Linked DNA regions of Homo sapiens: regions 2, 3, 4, 5, 6 and 7 are each linked to region 1. The links are contacts of gene promoters, found by promoter capture Hi-C in blood cells and fetal thymus (Javierre and others, 2016). All regions are on one chromosome and are shown on one strand. Each heading gives the region's core, a stretch centred on a gene start or on the middle of the fragment in contact. The rest is flanking DNA. Distances are from core to core; before and after follow the strand shown.

The links. Contacts are between HindIII fragments. The CHiCAGO score rates a contact against its expected background, and 5 or more counts as called.
Region 2: a contact is called between a fragment that was not itself captured here and the fragment with the promoter of MYRFL in region 1, in 6 of 17 cell types (M0 macrophages, M2 macrophages, naive B cells and 3 more). The highest score is 6.7, in M0 macrophages.
Region 3: a contact is called between a fragment that was not itself captured here and the fragment with the promoter of MYRFL in region 1, in 1 of 17 cell types (naive B cells). The highest score is 5.2, in naive B cells.
Region 4: a contact is called between a fragment that was not itself captured here and the fragment with the promoter of MYRFL in region 1, in 1 of 17 cell types (monocytes). The highest score is 6.0, in monocytes.
Region 5: a contact is called between a fragment that was not itself captured here and the fragment with the promoter of MYRFL in region 1, in 6 of 17 cell types (M2 macrophages, M0 macrophages, naive CD8 T cells and 3 more). The highest score is 9.8, in M2 macrophages.
Region 6: a fragment that was not itself captured here is called in contact with the fragment with the promoter of MYRFL in region 1 in 2 of 17 cell types (monocytes and naive CD8 T cells); the score reaches 6.4 in monocytes.
Region 7: a fragment that was not itself captured here is called in contact with the fragment with the promoter of MYRFL in region 1 in 3 of 17 cell types (M1 macrophages, M2 macrophages and M0 macrophages); the score reaches 6.7 in M1 macrophages.

What each region holds. Positions count from the first base shown.
Region 1 is chr12:69,823,977-69,826,893 of GRCh38, forward strand. MYRFL (myelin regulatory factor like) reads left to right here and starts at 1,251. Exons shown (of 25, transcript NM_182530.3): 1 at 1,251-1,587. The coding sequence starts at 1,542. The HindIII fragment of the contact is 5,503 bases long and covers 1-2,465 here.
Region 2 is chr12:70,743,846-70,746,762 of GRCh38, forward strand. It overlaps PTPRR (protein tyrosine phosphatase receptor type R), which reads right to left. Exons shown (of 14, transcript NM_002849.4): 6 at 1,973-2,241. The region is part of intron 1 of LOC124902960 (a long non-coding RNA gene); the gene reads left to right. Among named protein-coding and RNA genes, the nearest start is that of PTPRB, 110 kb to the left of the region's middle. The HindIII fragment of the contact is 710 bases long and covers 1,054-1,763 here.
Region 3 is chr12:70,616,827-70,619,743 of GRCh38, forward strand. All of the region lies in intron 3 of PTPRB (protein tyrosine phosphatase receptor type B), which reads right to left. Among named protein-coding and RNA genes, the nearest start is that of PTPRB, 19 kb to the right of the region's middle. The HindIII fragment of the contact is 3,466 bases long and covers 1-2,917 here.
Region 4 is chr12:70,598,430-70,601,346 of GRCh38, forward strand. All of the region lies in intron 4 of PTPRB (protein tyrosine phosphatase receptor type B), which reads right to left. Among named protein-coding and RNA genes, the nearest start is that of PTPRB, 38 kb to the right of the region's middle. The HindIII fragment of the contact is 698 bases long and covers 1,078-1,775 here.
Region 5 is chr12:70,581,763-70,584,679 of GRCh38, forward strand. All of the region lies in intron 9 of PTPRB (protein tyrosine phosphatase receptor type B), which reads right to left. Among named protein-coding and RNA genes, the nearest start is that of PTPRB, 54 kb to the right of the region's middle. The HindIII fragment of the contact is 531 bases long and covers 1,164-1,694 here.
Region 6 is chr12:70,563,855-70,566,771 of GRCh38, forward strand. PTPRB (protein tyrosine phosphatase receptor type B) reads right to left here. Exons shown (of 34, transcript NM_001109754.4): 15 at 2,581-2,850. The region is part of intron 8 of PTPRB-AS1 (PTPRB antisense RNA 1); the gene reads left to right. Among named protein-coding and RNA genes, the nearest start is that of PTPRB, 72 kb to the right of the region's middle. The HindIII fragment of the contact is 7,249 bases long and covers 1-2,917 here.
Region 7 is chr12:70,539,031-70,541,947 of GRCh38, forward strand. It overlaps PTPRB (protein tyrosine phosphatase receptor type B), which reads right to left. Exons shown (of 34, transcript NM_001109754.4): 23 at 1,828-1,927; 24 at 909-992; 25 at 797-814; 26 at 595-676. The region is part of intron 6 of PTPRB-AS1 (PTPRB antisense RNA 1); the gene reads left to right. Among named protein-coding and RNA genes, the nearest start is that of PTPRB-AS1, 72 kb to the left of the region's middle. The HindIII fragment of the contact is 1,644 bases long and covers 571-2,214 here.

The sequences.
Region 1 (2,917 bases), core at 1-2,500:
GGGTATGGATATATATATATATATATATACATTCAGAATCTACCACTATAGGTAGTGAATGCAAAGGAGGATAGCAGAGGCTGGGAAGGGTAATAGGGGTTAGGGGGTGAGGGGATAAAGAGGGGTTGGGTAATGGGTGCAAAAATATATAGAAGGAATATGATCTAGTGTTTGGTAGCACAATAGGGTAAATACAGTTAACAATAATTTATATTTCACAATAAAGGAGTGGATTTGGAATGTTCCCAACATAAATGATAAATGATAAATGTTTGAGGTGATGGATACCCCAATTACCCTGATTTGATCATTACACATTGTATGTTTGTATCAAAATATATGTACCCCATAAATATGTACAACTATTGTGTATCCATAAAAATTAGAAATAAACTATATATATAAAAACTATATGGATATATATATAAACAAACTATATATGGATATATATATATCCATATCCTTCCACACACATATCCATATCCACACACATATCCATATCCACTGCTACCACTCTGTCTCATATATATATGTATATATGTATATATATATGTATATATATGTATGTGTATATATATATATATATGAGAGAGTGTCAATAATTGGTAAGTGTAGATGAAGAGTATATGGATATTTTATGATACTATTTTTTTTCCAAATAGTTGGGAAAAAAGAAAAGGAAGGGGCGAAAGGATAATTTAATTTCCTAATTGTATTTTCTTAGGCTATTGTTAAATGAATTATAGCTAAGCAGTGAAAACAAAACATTTATTCGGGTATGGTTTTATATTTAGGAGTGAATCAAGTTACTAGTGACTCAACTGTAAGAATTATTAAATTGGTAATGCAGTTTTCGTTGCTTGTTAGAGAGACTTCTCATACTTTATGGTTTATGCTTTGGAAGCAAATAAGCTCTAGAGGAAATGGAACAGGTATGTATTAAGGAATTTAAGTTTTTGCTGTAAGTTTGGAAATACTTAACAAATTCTAACTTTTCATTATCACAAGCCTTTTAAAATTACCTGTGATGATAGGTATCTATAAAAGTAATTATATTGATTTATCCCTTTTTTCTAGGTTAAAAAAATAAGTATGTTTTATTGGTGGTAGCTAAGTGGATCTAGTTGATAAAGGTGGAGATATAAATATATTGGTGTAAAAGGACAAATATGAGATAAGACTATGTATTTATTGCCCATTTATGTAATTGCATGTGTCACTAAGGACAAAGGTCCTTAAAGACGAAAAGCAGAGTAGAAACAGTTCCTTATATTAAGACAGATGAATTTGCTACCTCTTCCCTCTTCATGAATTTTTTTTAAATGTATGGTTGTATATCCTTCCAGTTTTATAATCACATTTGAAAACTCAACCATCTTTCTGGGCACAATTTGATGGCTGAAGATATGCTTCACTCCAATAAAAAGAAAATGAAGATTTTTCAAGAGCATTCGTAGGCTTCGAATCAAAAGGACAGTACTTATTTCCTGAGGTCTGATAACCGTTGTTTTATGAGGAAATAGTACTAGGATCACAGTACCATGGATGTGGTAGGCGAAAATGAGGCCCTGCAGCAGTTCTTTGAAGGTAAGAGGCCAATTTCCAGCATGAATTTGCTGCTTCTGAGAAATGCTCACTATCCCTGTTTCACCTTTTCCGTATTCACTTAAACTTTGTTTTGAAAGAAATGCTATCATACTTAGGTAACTCTCCTAATATCAAAAGTAGGGGTTTATTTGCTACATTGGGAGCAAAATTCAATGGTATGGATAGAGATTTTAAACAAAACAGGATTTTCATCTTATAGTTTGGTTGTTAGAATCAAGGGGTCAGCATATTTATGTTGTTATTACTTGTCCCTGTCCTGTACTAGATTTTATTTTTTCCCATGCCCTATGTTTAAAAAAACTACATAGCCATGCTCAAATTCCATGTGAAGGGAAACGTGACCATCATTTTTACACGGTAAGGTATTTTGCATGAGGGAGTATGAGAAGAAGTGAGGGAAGACCTGCTCATTTACAGAATCTAGGGATCAGTCAGCAGCACATCGAGAAAAGTGCTTTAGGTATTTCTTGTGCTTTGTAAAGTGCCTGACAAATAATATATATTTAAAAGTTGAATGGAATGGGCTGAATAGTAAACAATGCTGAACACTAAAGAGTGACGGGGCGTACCAAAGAAATAGTGAGATTCTATGTCACTATTGGGAGGAATCAACACCATGGGGTAGTTTCTGTGGCTTGGGTTTTTCCAGAAATGGCAAGAAGAAACATAAGACCAAGAGAATTATCACATTATCTTGTCCTACCATCCATCCCATTGAGTGTTCTGTCTCTGACAGTGGCCAAGTTGGTATTGTCTACCTGGGTCATGCTTGGCACATGGTAGGCACACTAGTGTTGCTAGACTGTTATTGCCTGATTTTATATCATATATAATTTTCGTTTGAGCAGCAGGTGGCAAGCTTCAATCTACCATTGCATCTATTTTAGAGAAACCAGCAATTTATTGTATACATGCAAAAATCTACTCCATTTCCTTCTAGAGCTAGGGAAGACCTGAATATCGAATTTGGTCTACCTTCTGTTTTTTGAAAGAGCTTTTATTTCTATGGGATCCCTATACTGTCCTTGTTTATACTATTTTTGGAGGTTTCTATGGATATAGTTTCTACAAGTCCCCTCTACAGCTTGTTACAATTATCTGATCATTATTATAAAAGTATTTGTCTTCAGTGTTTTTCTTACATTATCTGTGAATAGTTGGAAAAGGTGGTAGACTTCACAAATTAAAATGAAGGCACTAGCTTAAGTGAGTCCCATCCCCCTGAAAATCACACAGCTAATTGTCAATTTTTTCTTACCTCTACTATTCAGCAAATATTGAGCGCCTACTCTGAGTCAGGTTCAACAAC
Region 2 (2,917 bases), core at 159-2,658, 920 kb after region 1:
CCAGCAGTGGTCTACAGAGGGCAGGATGCTGGGAATGGCTACTTTCCTAGACAATTTTATTCTGACCTTGCTTAGAATTGGTAGTGCATGATGATAATAAAAATTTGTCTTTTAATCAGTTTCATTATGACCCTTCATTGTTATCTACTATAGATAACATGGCCTCCTATTGCCTGCAGACCCTTTCTTGCCACCGGCCCTTCGTTCATCACTGATGCCCAGGTCTGTGCTTCAAAGTTCCTCTTTGAAGCAAACATAAAAGCACAAAAATAATGTGGATGACCAGAGTAAAAGAACCAGAAAGAAGCTAAAAAATCAAGTTAAACCTCTTTATCTTTTAGAAGAAAATGAGGTCCAGATGAGTGAATGACTCAGGTGAGGCCACCAAACCCAGGAACGGCAGGGCTGGGTCTGGAATCCAGTTCTCCTGACTCCCAGTTAGCCTTAGGGAGAAAGTTCCATTTTCTCTACCTTTCCACACTGAATCACAAAAAGCAATTTAGTGATATCTACGTAAGTGAATGTCACATGGAGACCTACATTGCCCATCAAGAAACCACAGGTATTTTAGGGGAGGAGGTGGAAAGAATGACTTGATCAATCTCTGTTTTCTTCCTGTTGTGGAGTCAAAGGGTTCAGTGTTTAAGGACTTTTAGAGATAAACACATTCCTTTATTTTTATGTCATCCATTGTTCCTTGGCAATACTTTCAAATAATTATGAAGGATCAATTTTGTATTCTGCAGTTCTTAAAATCCCAAGCTATATTTTCTGAAGGGTGTGTTTGTGTGTGTAAACCATAACTATTTGCATAGGGCATTGTGATGTATCATGGGAAATATATTCAAAATTTATATATGTGATTTAAAAACCTCAGGCAACAAAATATATGGGGTTAGAAAATGGAGACATGGAAAATAAGAGGAGAATGAACCTGGGATATTACTTTGAGAACTTACTCTCCCACTACCCTGGTGTTCAAAGTTGGATACACTACAAGTCATGTTTTAAATATAAAATTAAAGCTTCTTATTTTAAGAAACGCCATGGGAAAGCTTTACTTAATATTTTTGAGAGGCAAAGAATTAGTCTCTCATTTATGTATTTTGCAAATCCAAGTTTTCTTACATTGGATTTGCGTTTAATGGAAATGTATTGGTATAAAGTGAATCACATGTATAATACATCACAAAAAAGGTAAGGCAACAAAAATAATGTCATGGATTTTTTTTTTCTTTAGATAGAGTTTCACTCTGTTGCCAAGGCTGGAGTGCAGTGATGCTATCTCGGCTCACTGCAACGTCTGCCTCCCAGGTTCAAGCAATTCTCACATCCCAGCCTCCCAAGTAGCTGGGATTACAGGCATGCGCCACCTCACCTGGCTATTGGCCAGGCTGGTCTTGAACTCCTGGCCTCAAGTGATCCACCCACCTCAGCCTCCCAAAGTACTTGGATTATAGGCGTGAGCCACTGCGCCCGTCCAGTGTCATGGATCTTGATACTGAATGTTTGTTGTGGTTAAAAAATGCAGAGCTAAAACTTTAAAAAAAATTAATCTGTGGCATCAACTCCTGCCTAACTCCAGACAACGTGGGCTTTTGCAGGAAACACTCTGAGTTCATTCTCAGTCTTCTACCTACCAGAGTTTCATGACAATTAAACAAGATAGCATCTTGTGAGGTCAGTGAACCTCAATAAGCTAGAAATTGTCTTGTAGTTGAAGATGAACTTTGCTTGGATCTATACCATCTTGAATCTAGACAAGCTTAGCAGAATCAGACATACCTAACAGATTTTATCTAACACAGTTGGATTCCTTTGGGAGACAAGAAACACTACTTCATCTGACTGTCCATTTAGTGGTGAACAATTCTACCCAATTATGTCAATCATTACTAGTTCTTTCTTTTTTAGTTGATGAATACTCTTTTTATAAAAAGCCACACGTAGGGTATACAGAACAAGCTCTTACCTCTCTTGAAGTCCTATGGGCTTCATTTTGAAAGGAGAAGGGCAAACAGAGGTAGCGGTGGTAGCTTTGATCTCAGGAGCACCTCGGCCTTGAGGGTCCACGACAACATTCAGTACCTTTGGGGCCTGCTCAGGTTGGACCATGCTGTGGACTGTCTTTGCCTCGGACAGTGCTGGCTGTAATGTGATGGGCGATAGGTGGATCTCCTGGTTTTTCTCTTTGTCTTGTCTTAAGGAAAGCTGAAATCTTTCTTTTAATCTGTAAAGAATCTATAGAAGGAGATATAAAAAACTCCTGTCACATTTTCTCACACTAAACAAGAGTATGATCTCCTCCACCCCACCCTGGCCGACAAACCAAAATAAAGGCTTAACGATAAAGTAAACAAAGCCCTCTGAGAGATGATTTCTCAGTTTCATGGTATTGAGATTTTTCTCAAGACAGTACACTTGGTATTTCCAGTTATGCTGCACATATGTATCAAATAATTGTGCACATGAATCTGTTCCACAAAGATATATTCAAAAGTAAATTTAACCAATTTTATGAAAAATGCCAGATGTTAGTTTGGTCACATGGGGAAATGGTAGGCTTACAGAAGGAATAACCGTAAAACACACGTCTATGACATTTATAGAAATGGAGATATACATCCAACATGGCTTAGTAGAAAAAAGTAGTCTTGCAAGTATTAATAAAATAATAGTTATGCCATAAACCACAGTTTCTTATGTTGGTAAATCTCTGCATTAGTCATATATCAACTTGAGTATCTGGTAAATACTTGACAAATTAAATTTAGGGTATCTATGAAAGAATAATTTGGACAACCAGAATTTTTATTCTTACCACTTTGCCCTCTTAAATTTTAATATTTATTTTATTTTATTTCGATACAGGATCTGGCTCTGTTGCCCAAGCGAAAGTGCAGTGCTGTGATCATAG
Region 3 (2,917 bases), core at 304-2,803, 790 kb after region 1:
GTTCATGGTTGTATTTTATGTGCATATGATTATACAGTCATCCCTCAGTATGGGGGTGGATTGACTCCAGGACCCTTATGTATAACCAAATCTCCACATACTCAAGTAAAATAGTTGGCCTTGCAAAACCTGCATATACAAAAGTTGGTCCTCTGTATACCTGAGTTACAAATTCCACCAATAATGTATTTTTCATTTGCATTTGGTTGAAAGAAAGTCCCGTATAAATGGACCTGCACAGTTCAAAACCATGTTGTTCAAGGGTTAACTATATGTTCACAAAATAGCAACATGGTCTTTTTGTGCACAAAATGGAAAACAATGCAAATCGCCCATCACTAAAAGAAAATGAAAGAGAATAAAAATCCTTGAGATTTTCAGGCTGGTGGGGTCCAGTGAATTGTAGACCATCTTTATGCTATTGGCACATGGTAGTCCACTTTAACTGGCAAATTAAGAAAACTATAGTCCATGTTAGAATTAGGCTTGAAAGATGTTAATTATAAATTAAGTTCTTTTGAAACGTATCCTCCCCACAATATGTTATTTCCCAAGTGGCCTTTTTTGTAGCATCAGCAGTCTCAGAGTCTGTTTATATAGTATCCATTCACACTAGTCAATCTAGGAGTCGAGATGAAGGATCAGAGGATGGTTTCCTTTCCCCCTCTCCCCCGCTACTTCTTTGCCCTCCTCCCTCCAGGCATTTGCCTCAGTGAAGGGGAATTTTTTCCCATCTTTAGTTCTGGCTACAGAACAGTAGTAGCAGCGGGGTGTCTCCCCTGCATACTTTAAGTGACCCCAATATAGGAGGTTATCCCAGACTTGCAGGGGGTGGAGTTTTCTGCATTTGCAGGGGTGGGGTGTTTTCTGCATTTGCCTCCTCATTTATCTGGAGACTCACACTGGGCTGTGATCTCTTTGAAGGCCAAATAGAAGGAAACACAAAACTGTGAAAGCCCAGACCAGTACCACAATGGCTATTCATGAACTGAGGAAATGCAATCCTTCTCCCAGGCCGGAGCAAGGGTGGGTGGGCAGGGAAAGATTTAGAGATATTTAGCAGTATCAGAACCAGCCAGTAACATTTCTAATGCATGTTCTGCATTTTATCCCTTTCAAAGTATTTTCACATAATATGTTGACTCATCTGGTTTTTAACACCCTGTGAAGAAGGCAAGGTAGGAATGATGAAGCAGGAACAAGGAGAAGCTAGTATTAATAGCTAAAACTATTGAATATTTATCATGTATAGCCAGTGTTCTTGTTTGTTTTTTGTTTGTTTGTTTGTTTTGAAACAGGGTCTCATTCTGTCATCCAGGCTGGAGTGCAGGGGCATGATCACAGCTCACTGCAGCCCTGGCCTCCTGGGCTCAAATGATCCTTCTGCCTTAGCCTCCCCAGTAGCTGGGATCACAGGCACGCACCACCATATCTGGGTAATTTTTAATTTTTTTATTTTTTCTTGCAGAGACAGGGTTTTGCCCTGTTGCCCAGGCTGGTCTCGAACTCCTGGGCTTGAGTGATCTGCTCACCTCGGCCTCCCAAAGTGCTGGGATTATAGGTGTAAACCACTGCATCAGGCCTAGCCAGTATTCGAAAACATTTTACTTAATCAGAATTTAATCCTGTCTTATGAGGCAGAGTGAGTACCCATAACTATCCTTAAGTTAAAGAAGAAATGAGTGGGACTTGAGTAACTAGTAGATATCACCACTGGGATTTAAGCCAGGTTTCTCTGACACAGAGTCCCAGCTTCTGATTTATTAGGTCTAGAATAGGGTCCAAGTGGTTGCATGTCTAATAAGTTCTGGGACTAGGGTCCATACTTGGCGAACAATTGATCAAAGTATTTCCTGACTCATACCATAGACAAGTTTCCTGTTCTATCGATTTTGTCCTTGTGAAGACACGCAATCCACATAATACTATTTATAAAAGTGACAATAACAACAATGGCAGCTAAAATTAATTAAACACTATTTTACTATCATTCAGGCACTACTCTAGGCCTATGATATGTGTTAATTCATTTACTGCTCAGGGTTGGGGGCTAGAAGAGAGAGAGCACCACAGAGTTTTGAGGTCAAGTACCGGCCCAAGTATACAAACTTCCAAAGTCAGACCCCTCACACTGGCAGGTAAGGATGTGAGAAGAGAGAGAGAAAAGGAGAACGGCAGGGAATACTCTGATCCCCAATAGCCAACATAGGACAATCTTGCAGTAGCATTAGAGAGGAGTGATTGCTGGATTTCAAATCATGTCCTCCTTGGCATTTACCTTTATTATCAGGCACACTATGTAAGAGAATATGTGACTAGATGTTTAGGGGAGTGTGTGTGTGTGTGTGTGTGTGTGTGTGTGTGTGTATACTCTTCTTGGTCTGTTATTCCCTAGTCATTTAATCTTGGGCAAGTTCCTTTTTAAGTTTCAGCTGGGTATCTATAAAACAGAGATAGTGGGTGGTGGTGGTGATGATGATGATGATGATAATGATAATGATAATGATAATGATGATACTATGGTAGATTGCTTAATGGTCACAGATTCCTCCCACTCAATATGCACGCTCCTTTACAATGTGACTTTGCAGCTCTTCCCATCAAGAAATGGAATCTATTTCTACACTCCCTGAATCTAGCCTGGTTTGAGAGTTGCTTTGATCAATAGAATATCGCAGAAGTGATGTTGCATGGTTCCAGAGCCTCGGCCTCAAAAGGCTTGTAGCTTCCACCTTTGACTTCTGGTGAGGCTGCCCTAACCCATCATGAAAAGGAAGCTGGTGTAGCCTACTGGCAGATAAGAGGCCATGTGGAGGAGAACCTAGACTCCCCAGCCTACACCCAGCACTGACTGCTAGTCATGCAAGTGAACCCTAACCCTAACCCATCGGTCATCACAAACCAGATGCTGTCTGAT
Region 4 (2,917 bases), core at 177-2,676, 770 kb after region 1:
CATGGGCTTTGGAGTCAGAATTAAATTTAAATCTCAGCTCTAACAAAGTCATGAGACTTTGGGCAAGCTATTTAACCTGTCTAAGCCTCCACTTTCCTATCTGGGGAGTATAATAATAATACTTATATTCCAAGGCAGTTTTGAAAAGTAACAAGATATAGAGGAGTCTATGAGATTCTAATAGCCAGTGAAACTCAAGAACAATGCTGTCGTACCCAATTGAGATGACATACTTTTGCTGAAGTGGCATTTTAAGGACAAGGATGAGAGGGACAGCTGCTTCCAGTGATAGTTCAAAAGGGATCAATACTATCATCTACATGTACTATCAAGCCAGATAAAAATTTTAAAAAATAATGTCATGATCAGTAGAATCCAAACATATATAATCCACAAAATATGAGATATAGAAATAAATTTTAAGGTTGCGTGTCTAGAGGGTGAAGTTCAGAAATGCAGACTTTATCTAATCTTTCTGAGCCAGAAAACAAAACAGTCAATCCTTTGTACATCCGCTAGAACAAAGGAACAATGAGACTGGGAAGTGCCTGGGCTGCGAGAACCTGCACTGGAAACAAACACTTAAAACCCCATTTATACTGTGATAAAGCCCTTTGCTGGCAGTTGTCCACTATTGCTATGCATGCTGCAGAAACTAAATAGTTTTCAGACTCCCTTTAAATCTAAGCCCAATAAAAACTCTGATGGATTTAAAAAGTTTTCAAAATTTTATTAGATACTTCTATCAGGGGTGCACATTTCATATAATATGACTGTGTGTGTATGTATTAAATATATGTATATAGATATATATATGGAGAAAGAGAAAATTTTTAATGCTACTTGAAAATTTAGTCATGTACCTATAGTCTTCTGATCATATGACAGATCGTACATAATTAGGAAATCCTACTTGACTTATATAATTTATGTGAATGGTTAAAGGTATCAATGCACAGATGTGTGCATTTATAGCCTCTGGTTTTTCCAATCATCACACTCATACGCATAGTAACCAGTGAAGTATTATAAAATATGAGAACTAATAATAAATCAAATCAAAAAATAATAAATCAAAGCTTTAGTCTTGATTAATATATCAATATTTATCATTAGCCATAAATTTAGAGCACTTTGTAATTCTTGGTTCCCAACAGACCTGAAATATGGAATGACAAATGCATAGTCAAAATGAATAACAACAGTAAGTTCTATAATATTCATTGTATATACTTGAATAAATCTACCAGCACCAGAAAGCCCCAGAGTTCCATAAGCAGGCTTGACGTCAACACAATTTTTCTTTTCTCAAAAGAAAAGACAAAGTATGGCAAAATTCCTGAACCAAAATGAATTCTTTTTTCCTTTTCTTTTTTTTAAATGTGACTTAGGAAGCCAAGTGTGATGATGTGTGCCCTTAGTTCCAGTTACTCAGGAGGCTGAGGCAGGAGGGTTGCTTGGGTCCAGGTATTGGAGGCTATAGTGCATCATAATAGTGCCTGTGAATAGCTACTGCACTTCAGCCTGGGCAACATAGAAAGACCCTGTTTTTTTTTTTTTTTTAATGTTATTTAGAAAGAGAAAGAAAGCTATATTTATAGCACAAATGATATTTGCTTCTTAATTGTTTTTGTGACAGCATGGTCATTAAAACATTAGTATTTATTGATATAGAAATGTCTAGACTCTTTAGAATTAGAAGTGATTGTATTTGCTATAGAAATAAATTCAACCTTATAACAAAAAGGGCAGCCAATCCATGAGTTGGTGCCAAAAGCTTTTCTTAAAGGCACGACAGCACCACATTACATCTGTATAGGACCTGATAATCTACAACATGCTTTCTCAGTTGGAATAGGGGCTCAGAGACATTAAATGACTCACTCGTGTTGTATAGGAACAGGTAGTAAAGTTGAGCTTCCAATACCTGTCTCTAAATCCTGTTTTCTCTCTATCACACCTTAGCTGTCCTAGTGTGGGAAATGATGTCATGAATTGCATATTCAGTGTAATGACAAAAAATAAAAATAGATGTCTACGGAAAATGATAGGCATATTTATAGAATTTTTCAGATGTTGGTTTGCTACTGTAGCATAGTCAAAATGAGTAACAACAGTAGTAACAGCTAAATCTAATTCTGTGAGCATGAAAGTTCCCTTTTCGAAAATAATATTTTTCTTGCCTGTTCCCTTTTTTCCTTATTTTATTGCCTTTACCTGGAGTCCCTTCATTTTGTGTTGGATTACTTTGAAAGCCTTCTAAGTGTCTTCCTTATTTTCTTTTGAGACAGGGCCTTGCTCTGTCACCCGGGCTGGAGTCCAGTGACGTGATCATGGCTCACTGCAGTCTCAACCTCCTGGGCTCAAGTGATTCTCCCACCTCAGCCTCATGAGTAGCCAGGACCACAGGTGCACACCACCATGCCCAGCTAATTTTTGTATTTTCTTTTTTTTTTGAGATGGAGTCTAGCTCTGTCGCTGAGGCTGGAGTGCAGTGGCATGATCTCGGCTCACTGCAACCTCCGCCTCCTGGGTTCAAGCGATTCTCCTGCCTCAGCCTCCTGAGTAGCTGGGATTACAGGCGCCTGCCACCACGCCCAGCTAATTTTTATATTTTTAGTAGAGATAGGGTTTCATTGTGTTGGCCAGGCTGGTCTCGAACTCCTGACCTCGTGATCCACCCGCCTTGGACTCCCAAAGTGCTGGGATTACAAGCATGAGCTAGCGTGCCCAGCCTAATTTTTGTATTATTTTGTAGAGATAGGGTTTCGCCATGTTGCCCCAGCTGGTCTCAAACTCCTGAGCTCACATGATCCTCCCACCTTAGCCTCCCAAAGTGCTGGGATTGCATGCGAACCACCACGCCCCGCCTCTTCCTTATTTTCCGTCTTTCCTCCATGATTGCCAAATAATCTCT
Region 5 (2,917 bases), core at 179-2,678, 760 kb after region 1:
ATTCTTAAAGGGGCTGTTATTATACATGAACATGTGATAATAATATAAATTATAATATATATATTAAAAAATAATGATAATAACAACAACTACTGAAGGCCTACTATGTGCCAGTTATGAGCTATATGTCTCATAAAGGTTACATTATTTGACACCCATTCAGAACTCTATAAAGTTGACTTTATTATTCCATTTATTAACAAGGAAACCAAGGATCATAAAATGTAAGTAATTTAGCCTATATCACAGTGCTAACAAATAGCCAACCTGGAACTGAAAGCTAGATTTATCTAACCCCTAAGCCTGTGTCCTTTTCCTAATTAACAACATTTATTTCTTCCAACTTATCATTTAACAAATCTTATACACAGATCTTGAAGTTGGCACTTGGTCAACATACATTCTTCTTTGTGCCTCTTTCCTGAATTACAATAATCAAAGGGACTGGAACCTTGGCACCCCTCTTTCTCAAAGTTCATTGACTTCTGGATTAAGATACAAAAGCGTTCATTAAAAAAATCCTACTGTATATGGATCAGATTCAATTCTAAAGATTCAATTATAATTCTAAATTTTATATGAAAGGCAAACAGCTACAGTGGCCAAAGCAATTTTGAAAAAGATGAATAAAGTTAGAGGACTAACACCACCTGATTTCACTAAAAATCTTGTAATCAAGACAGGATAATACTGGCAAAGGGCAGACAGAAACATAGATTGATAGAACAGAATTGAGAGCCCAGAGATAGAAGAATATGCTATCAATGGATTTTTTAGAGATTCAAAGGCAATTTCATGGAGAAAAGATAGTCTTTTCAATACATAGAGGTAGAATTATCAGATGTCTATATGCAAAGAAAAAAACCTTCACCTATATCTCACATCATATATAAAAATTAACTCAAAATGGGTCGCAGACCTACATTTAAAACCTAAAACTATAACCTTCTAGGAGAAAACCTTTGTGACCTTGATTTAGGCAAATATTTTTAGATATGACACCACAGCATGATTTATGAAAGAAAAAAACTGATAAATTGGACATCAAAATGAAAAACCGACAGAAAACATTTTGACCAAGGACAAACAAACAATCCTATTTTAAAATCCAGCAAAATATTTGAACAAAAACTTCCCCAGAAAAGATAAATGGGTGACAAATAAGCTTGTGAAAGGATTCTCAAACCCATTAGACATTAGAAAAAGGCAAATTAAAACCACATGAGCTATCATTATCTTATTATAATGGCTATTCCATTAGAATGGCTAAATTTTAAAACAAACTGCTAATACCATGTACTACATGCTGAGAACACGGAGGAAGTGGAAATTTCATACATTGCTGGTGGGAATGTAAAATTTTACAATACTTTGGAAAGCAGTTTGGCAGTTTTCTACAAAGTTAAACATGCATTTACCATATGACCCAGCAATATGGGTGGTGGGGATGATAAAAATGACCTTAGGTCTAAAACAATGTCTTGGACTTCCCTTTCTGGCAGTATGATAGGCTAGATACCATGAAAATCCTTCTAATAAACACAACTATACATATTGGATAAAATGTGAAAATGTAAATGAATGACTTGTCAGGAATGTAAGAGATTCTCAAAGGCCAAAAAGTAAAGGATAGAGAGGTAATTGGATCATAAAGCGAACTGTTGTGTTGAGAGCACCTTTCAAATGCAAATGTAAGCTTTGATTTTATAGCACTGCAGGATATTGGAGAAAGGAGGTAAAGTGTAGATTTTTCCAGGCTGAAGAAACTCATAGCTGACCTTGCATAACATTGGAAAGGCTACATTCTAAGTATAAGTGAAATAAATAGTCTCTCTTTACTCCCCATACAACTTCAGCCTTCTTAATACTGGATGGAGAAAACGATTTCCTCTGAGAACTCATAACCTTAAGATAGTTTCAATGTGTTTGCAACCTGAATTTATAAAACCCAGGTGATCAAAGAACCTAAAGTTGACAATTTAGATTAAAGTAGGTCTGGTTTGATAGCAGTCTTGTGCACCTGAAAGAATCAAATGAAAATTCTTTCTGAAACTCACCTTCAAACATGGCCTTAAATAATTTCCACAGAATAAAATTCTAGGGAAAACAGGCTTACAGTAAAAAGAAATCACATACATTTAAAGAAATAAAGCAACATAAACAAAAGGCAGGAAAATCAAAAGACAACAGAACTTAACTCCTGAAGATTTCAGCTATTATAATTATCAGACATAGGATGGAAAATAAACATTGTTAATTTGCATATAACAATACAGGAGGGGAATGAAAATATAACTAAAGAGCAACAGAGCACAACATAAATTTGAAAGAGAGCCAAAGAGAATGCTTAAAAGTGAACATAACAATTAAAATTTAAAACAGTGGGTAGATTTTAAAATAGATTAGACAAAGCTGAAGAAAGAATTAATGAAATGAATCAAAGATATGAGAAAGTTACCTATACTGTAGTTCAGAGAGAAAACACATGGAAAATATGAAATATATTGATGTGTTCATATATGTGTGTTCTAGAATACCAGAAGATGACAGAGTGGGGAATGGAGAAGGGGCAAGAGGCAATATTAGAGAGTTAATAGCTGAGAATTTCCAGGATTGTAGAAAGACACTAGTTGGAAAGTACAGAAATGCCAATCAATCTTGAGCAAGAGAAACAAAAAGAAATATATCTACACCTTGATCATTATTGTGAAACAACTGAACCCCAAAGGCAAAAAAGCAGTCATAGCAAACAGACTCATAGAGAAATAAAAATCAGACTGACAGCTGACTCAGCGCAACAATAAATCCCAGAAAGACTAGAATAATATCTTTTATGTGCTGAGAGAAAGTAACTTTAAACACAGAGTTGGAACTTAAGGAAAATATCTTTCAAGACCGAGAGCTATATAAAAATGAG
Region 6 (2,917 bases), core at 132-2,631, 740 kb after region 1:
CAGCCCCCAAGTGCCACTTAAGCTAATGCAAAAATATTTCTTGACTGTACCCACTATTCTTCACCAGGGCCCCTGCATTCATTCAGCTATTGGTCCTTATCATCCTATGACTGCAGTCATGTCATGACCCCCATTACCTGTCCATCTGCATCCCCACCACTCATCCTCGCTCACTCTGTTCCAGCCATATGGGCCTCTTTACTGTTCCTCCAACAGGTCAGACACACACCCACTCAAGGTCTTTGTGTTGGCATTGGCTCTGCTTATAAATACCCAAATATTTGCATGACTTTCTCATTTCTTTCAGATTTTTACTCAAATGTCACTGCCTCAATGAAGTCTTTGGGGACTGTACTATCTAAAATTGTAAGTCCCGACCAGGTGCAGTGGCTCATGCCTGTAATCCCAGCACTTTGGGAGGCTGAGGAGGGTGGATCACCTGAGGTCAGGAGTTCAAGACCAGCCTGGCCAACATGGTGAAACCCTGTCTCTACTAAAAATATAAAAATTAGCCGGGTGTAGTGGTGCATACCTGTAGTCCCACTCGGTATGCACTCGGGAGGCTGAGGCAGGATAATTGCTTGAACCCAGGAGGTGGAGGTTGTGGTGAGCTAAGATCGCACCACTGCACTCCAGCTTGGGCAACAGAGGGAGACTCCATCTCAAAAAAAAAAAAAAAAAATTGTAAGCCCCTTGACCAGGCGTGGTGGCTCGTGCCTGTAATCCCAACACTTTGGGAGGTTGAGGCAGGTGGATTTCTTGAGCCCAGGAGTGCGAGACCAGCCTAGGCAATGTGGAGAAACCCTGTGTCTACAAGAAAATACAAAAATTAGCTGGGTGTGGTGGCACATGCCTGAAGTCCCAACTACTTGGGAGGTTGAGATGGGAGGATTGTTTGAGCCCAGGAGGCAGAGGTTGCAGTGAATTGAGATTGTGCCACTGCACTCCATCCTGGGTGCCAGAGCGAGGTTCTGTCTCCAAAAATAATAAATAATAATAATAATAATAATAATAATAATAATAATAATAATAATAAATAGATAGATAAAATTGTAAGCCCCAACTCTTGCTATCCCACCTTCCTAACTTAATTTCCTTCTTGGTCTTTATTACCACCCAACCTCCTACATCTTTTACTTATTTATTTTATTTATTGACTTTCTTCCCCACTAGACTATAAACATAATGACCATGGGAGTTTTTTTATTCACTTCTGTATATCCAGCAGTTAGAACAGTGCCTAGCCTATAGTAGGTACTCAATAATAAATGAATTGATAGGTGGATCTCCTCACTTCTGGTTCATTTCCATTCAATCCATTCCCCCATTGCTATCTGATTTATCTTTTTAAAGATACATCTTTTATTACAAAACAATTACTCTCTGGCTAAAAGTTTTGTATTGCTTTAAGATAAAATTCCTGAGGAAGGCTACCAGGCACCCTCTAATTTGGCTCCAATCTGGCTTTCAGTCTCACCTTTCCATCATGCAACACACATTTCAGCCACCCACAACTTCTCCTTTCTCCTGTTCATACCTCTTGGCCTTTGCACAGGACAGACTGTCTGTACAAAGTATTCTACCTTCTCTCCATAAGGAGAATTTCTTCATCCTTCAAGGCAGTACTGAAATGTCACTTTTATGAAGATGTCTCAATTCTACCTGACCTCCATGCTTCCCTGAATGCCAGACATCCCTCTCTTATATGTACTCTTTATCACAATGCATTGCCATTATTTGTCCATGTGTCTGTCTCGTCAGTCAGCTCTTTAAGGACGAGAAGCATGCCTGATTCATCTTTATGTCCCTGTCAACATAACCATCCCCGCCTTCAGACCTATGTACTTAATAAATAAGTTATCAATCAATTAGGCCAATGTGGTTGTCTGAATAATGGCCCCAAAGATGTCCATGTCCTAACCCCCAGAACCTGTGAATATGTTACCTTCTGTGGCAAAAAGGGCTTTGTAGATGTGATTAAGTTAAGGATCTTGAGACGAAGGAATTATCCTGGATTGTCCGGTTGGTGACCAAGGTAATCACAAGAGTCCTTAAAAGATGGAAGAGGGAGGCAGGAGAGCAGAGAAAGAGATGTAAGGTCCCATGCAGAGATTGGAGCAATGTCACTGTTGGGAGGGGGACACGAGCCAAGGAATGTGGGCGGCCTCAGAAGCTGAAAAAGGCAAGGAGTGGATTCTCCCTCTAAAGTGTCTACAAGAAACACAGCCCTGTTGTCTTGATTTCAGTCCCAAAAAACCATTTTCAGATTCTAATCTTCAGGACTAGAAAATAATAAATTTGGGTGGTATTAAGCCACTAAGATTGTGATAGTTTATTATAGCAGCAATAGGAAGCTAATAGCACCAATATTAATGAAAAATCAGAAACAGAGTGTGGTGGGCTGAGTCCTGCGTGGATAGGGCAACTGACATGGAAGTGGCAAATCAGGGTGAATGTTCCCAGCGTATCAAGAGATAGATATCATCTCCCAATGTTGCTTCATCCCTCTCACCCTGGGGTTCTTACACAATAGCAGACATTGGCAATATGTGCTACAAAACATTATGCTGTGCTAATTACCTGTTCGGCCTTCAGTCTGGGCTTCCTTGCTAAAGAGGCCTCCACTGACAGTTAGGATCTGTATCTTGTATTTCTTGCCTGGTGTTAGATCTTCAAATTTGTGTTGCTTAGTGGTGGCTGGCTCTGATGTGTTGCGCAGAAGGATTCCATTTTCAGTTAGAAGCAGGATATCATATCTTTCTGCCACACCAGCAGCTTTTTGCCAACTTACTATTAAGGAATAACTGCTGTATGCATTGTCTGCAATTACTCCTTGGACAGATGCTGGAACTGCAGAGAGACAAGTGGAGCAACAAAATACAGATTTTATCACTTAGGGTAAAGTCATCAATTGAGA
Region 7 (2,917 bases), core at 143-2,642, 720 kb after region 1:
GAGTTTGTAAGTGGAGAATATGAAATAGAATAAAGCAAATCATACAGTCCTGGAGATAACATAATAACATGAAAATATATACACTAGCTATTGTTTATGAATGCCTAGTACTCAACATGCATTAGCCCTGATCCCCACAACAGCCCCACAAGGGAGGTGGTGGTCTCACTATTTTACAGGTGAGGCTCAGTCAGGATAACTGATGTGCCCCAGGTCACCCAAGTGGCAAACCTGAGAATCAGTTCCAAAAGCTACGTGCTTTTTGCGAAACCACGGCATCTTCCAGCCAAGCAAATGGCCAGGCTGAATATCTGACAGCTTTAGGTCTGCATTTGAGATTTGTTAATTCTTCCTTACTATCTGATCCAGGTAGCCCTTGGTTTGCTGTGTTATTCTGGAGCTCAAGCTGGCCTCTAAGATTAGATGGTATATTCTATTCAGGGCATAGTTTAGGCATAAAAGAGTGCTCAGCTGAGATTCTAAGCAGCCTCCTAACTTCTGAGCTCAATCAGCCTATGATGACACAGTAAACATTAGGAAGGAAATTCTGCTAAGAACTAGGGATGCTGAAGCTTCATTCTGCCTGAGTTGTACCTCGTATTCCTTGGATAGAAGGTAGTTGGAGTCAGCCTGTAGCTTCATGAAATGCCCTTCAAACTGATTTATTTTTATTGGACTGTAATTAAAAATGAAACAAACAGAAAAGAGTTACTGCAGAAAAGGGAAAGTGCCATAACTATTCTGACTCATATTTCAAAGGCAGATAATATAGTAATTAATGTGTTCTCTCTCTTACCAAGAAGTTTTCCGGTTACTGTGAAGAGAAGCCAAAAGAGGAAGACTTTGTTAGCAAATTTCACATAATACCATCTTTCAACAAATTATACGAAGGCAAATGTGGTGCTTACCCTTTCTGGCCCAGGTTTAAGTGGACAGATAATGGTCGATCCCTACGAATGCTCAGACGGGCAGAGGGTCTTTCTCGACCATGGCTGAAACATAAGGGAGATAACTTTTATTCTGATTATGATACTTGGCTTGAACAAATTTTTCCATTTATGGTAAGGCTGTGGATGTTTGTGCAAATATGGATTTTTCAGTATTCATACAGATTTGCACTCAGCCAACATCTCTGAGGGAGGGAAAGGAAAGAGAATAAAGTAGATCATTCCCACCCAGAAACGGATCTCTGCAAAAACTGAAGATTTGTCTCCTGGTTTTTGGCTACAGGTTATAATCACTTCCCACATTCTCAATAAAACTTTGCTTTAAAAAAATCCAGTAAATTTCAGATGCCAGACACGACTTCAATAAAGAGGAACATGTGCCAAATTAAGAAAAAAAATTCACTAAGAGAAGAAGGCACGACACTTGGGGCCACATGCTATTTGGTTCTTTTTGGTCCCTTCTTAAATTAGGATGGCAGATATGAACTACAAAATGGTGATGTCAACCACACTTTTCAGGATATTTCAGAAAAGCACTTGGGCATGCAATTTGCAAACATCTCTGTCTTCATGAGGATATGAACCACACACACACACAAAATATTTTTTTCCTGTGCAAAAGGAGTCACTTCATCTTTAAATAAAGCTATAGATGGCCCCTCAGTCCTTTGGTAAGGGCTGAATTCATCAATGGGATATAAAAGAGCTGAGAAAAGTGAGTCATGGCTTTAGAGTTTGACTTGTTTTTATTGAGAAAACAGTGACAATTTAACCTGGAAAAATTAAATTATTTTCCCTTCTTAGTTTTCAGCCTAAAGGGAATTTTCAGTTGCATTTTTAAAGTTGTGGGTCCAATCACCAAAAGGATCTTTGTACTTACCTCACTTTCTGTCTGCAGATCAATAAGGCAACAACAGCCACTAGCATGCCAATTAAAAACAGACCAGCACTCACACCTTCAATAGCTCCAAACAAGGGCTCTACAATAATCCAGATAGAAACAACAAACGCAGGTGGGAAAATTAGTGCTAGGGAACCAGTAAGAAAGCTATTGAAGCCATATCTCCCAAGTAATGTTATTACAAATAGAATTCAAGTGATGCCCACGATGAGGCATTTACTTTCCAAAGGCTCTGAGTATGCACCTAAGAAGATGATGAAAGGCTGGCTCCCACCCTGTAGCAGTGAGGCCAGGTGTCACTGCATACTTTTGAAGTTAATGTTGCATAGCTTATAGAGGAATTTTGGACTTTGCACTTGTATATAAAGCTTGGGGCACCTGAGATAAAGGCCATAAGTTTGCCACCAAGATAAAAATGCCATTTCATTTATATAAAACATGTTACACAGCATCTGGGGCTTTGGAAAATCCAGTGGATTGCTTGGAGCTATTCTAAGAAGTCTTATTTTTATTATCTGGTATGGTAACGCTACTGGGAGTTTATGAAGAGGTAAGAGTGGCCTCATTTTTAAAATAGCTTTATTGAAATATCATTCATATAGCATGCAACTCACCCATCTAAGTTGTACAATTCAGTGGTCTTTAGTATAGTCAAAGTTTTGCAAATGTCACCACAATCAATTTTAAAACATTTTCATCACCCTCAAAAGAAACCGCGTACCTATTAGCAGTCAGTCCCACTCCTCCCTCCCCGCGATCCCTGGCAACCACTAATCTACTTTCTGTGTCTGTGGATTTGCCTATTCTGGATGTTTCATAGAAATGAAATCATAAATCTGTGATCTTTTGGGACTGGCTCCTTTCATTTAGCATAATGTTTTCAAGGTTCATCCATGTTATAGCATATACCAAGATTTCATTCCTTTTTATGGTTGAATAATCGTCCATTGTATGGATATATCACATTTTGTTTATCCATTGATGGACATTTAAATTGCTTCTACTTTTTGGCGATTATGAATAATGCTGCTATGAACATTCATGTACAAGTTTCTATGTGGACATATGT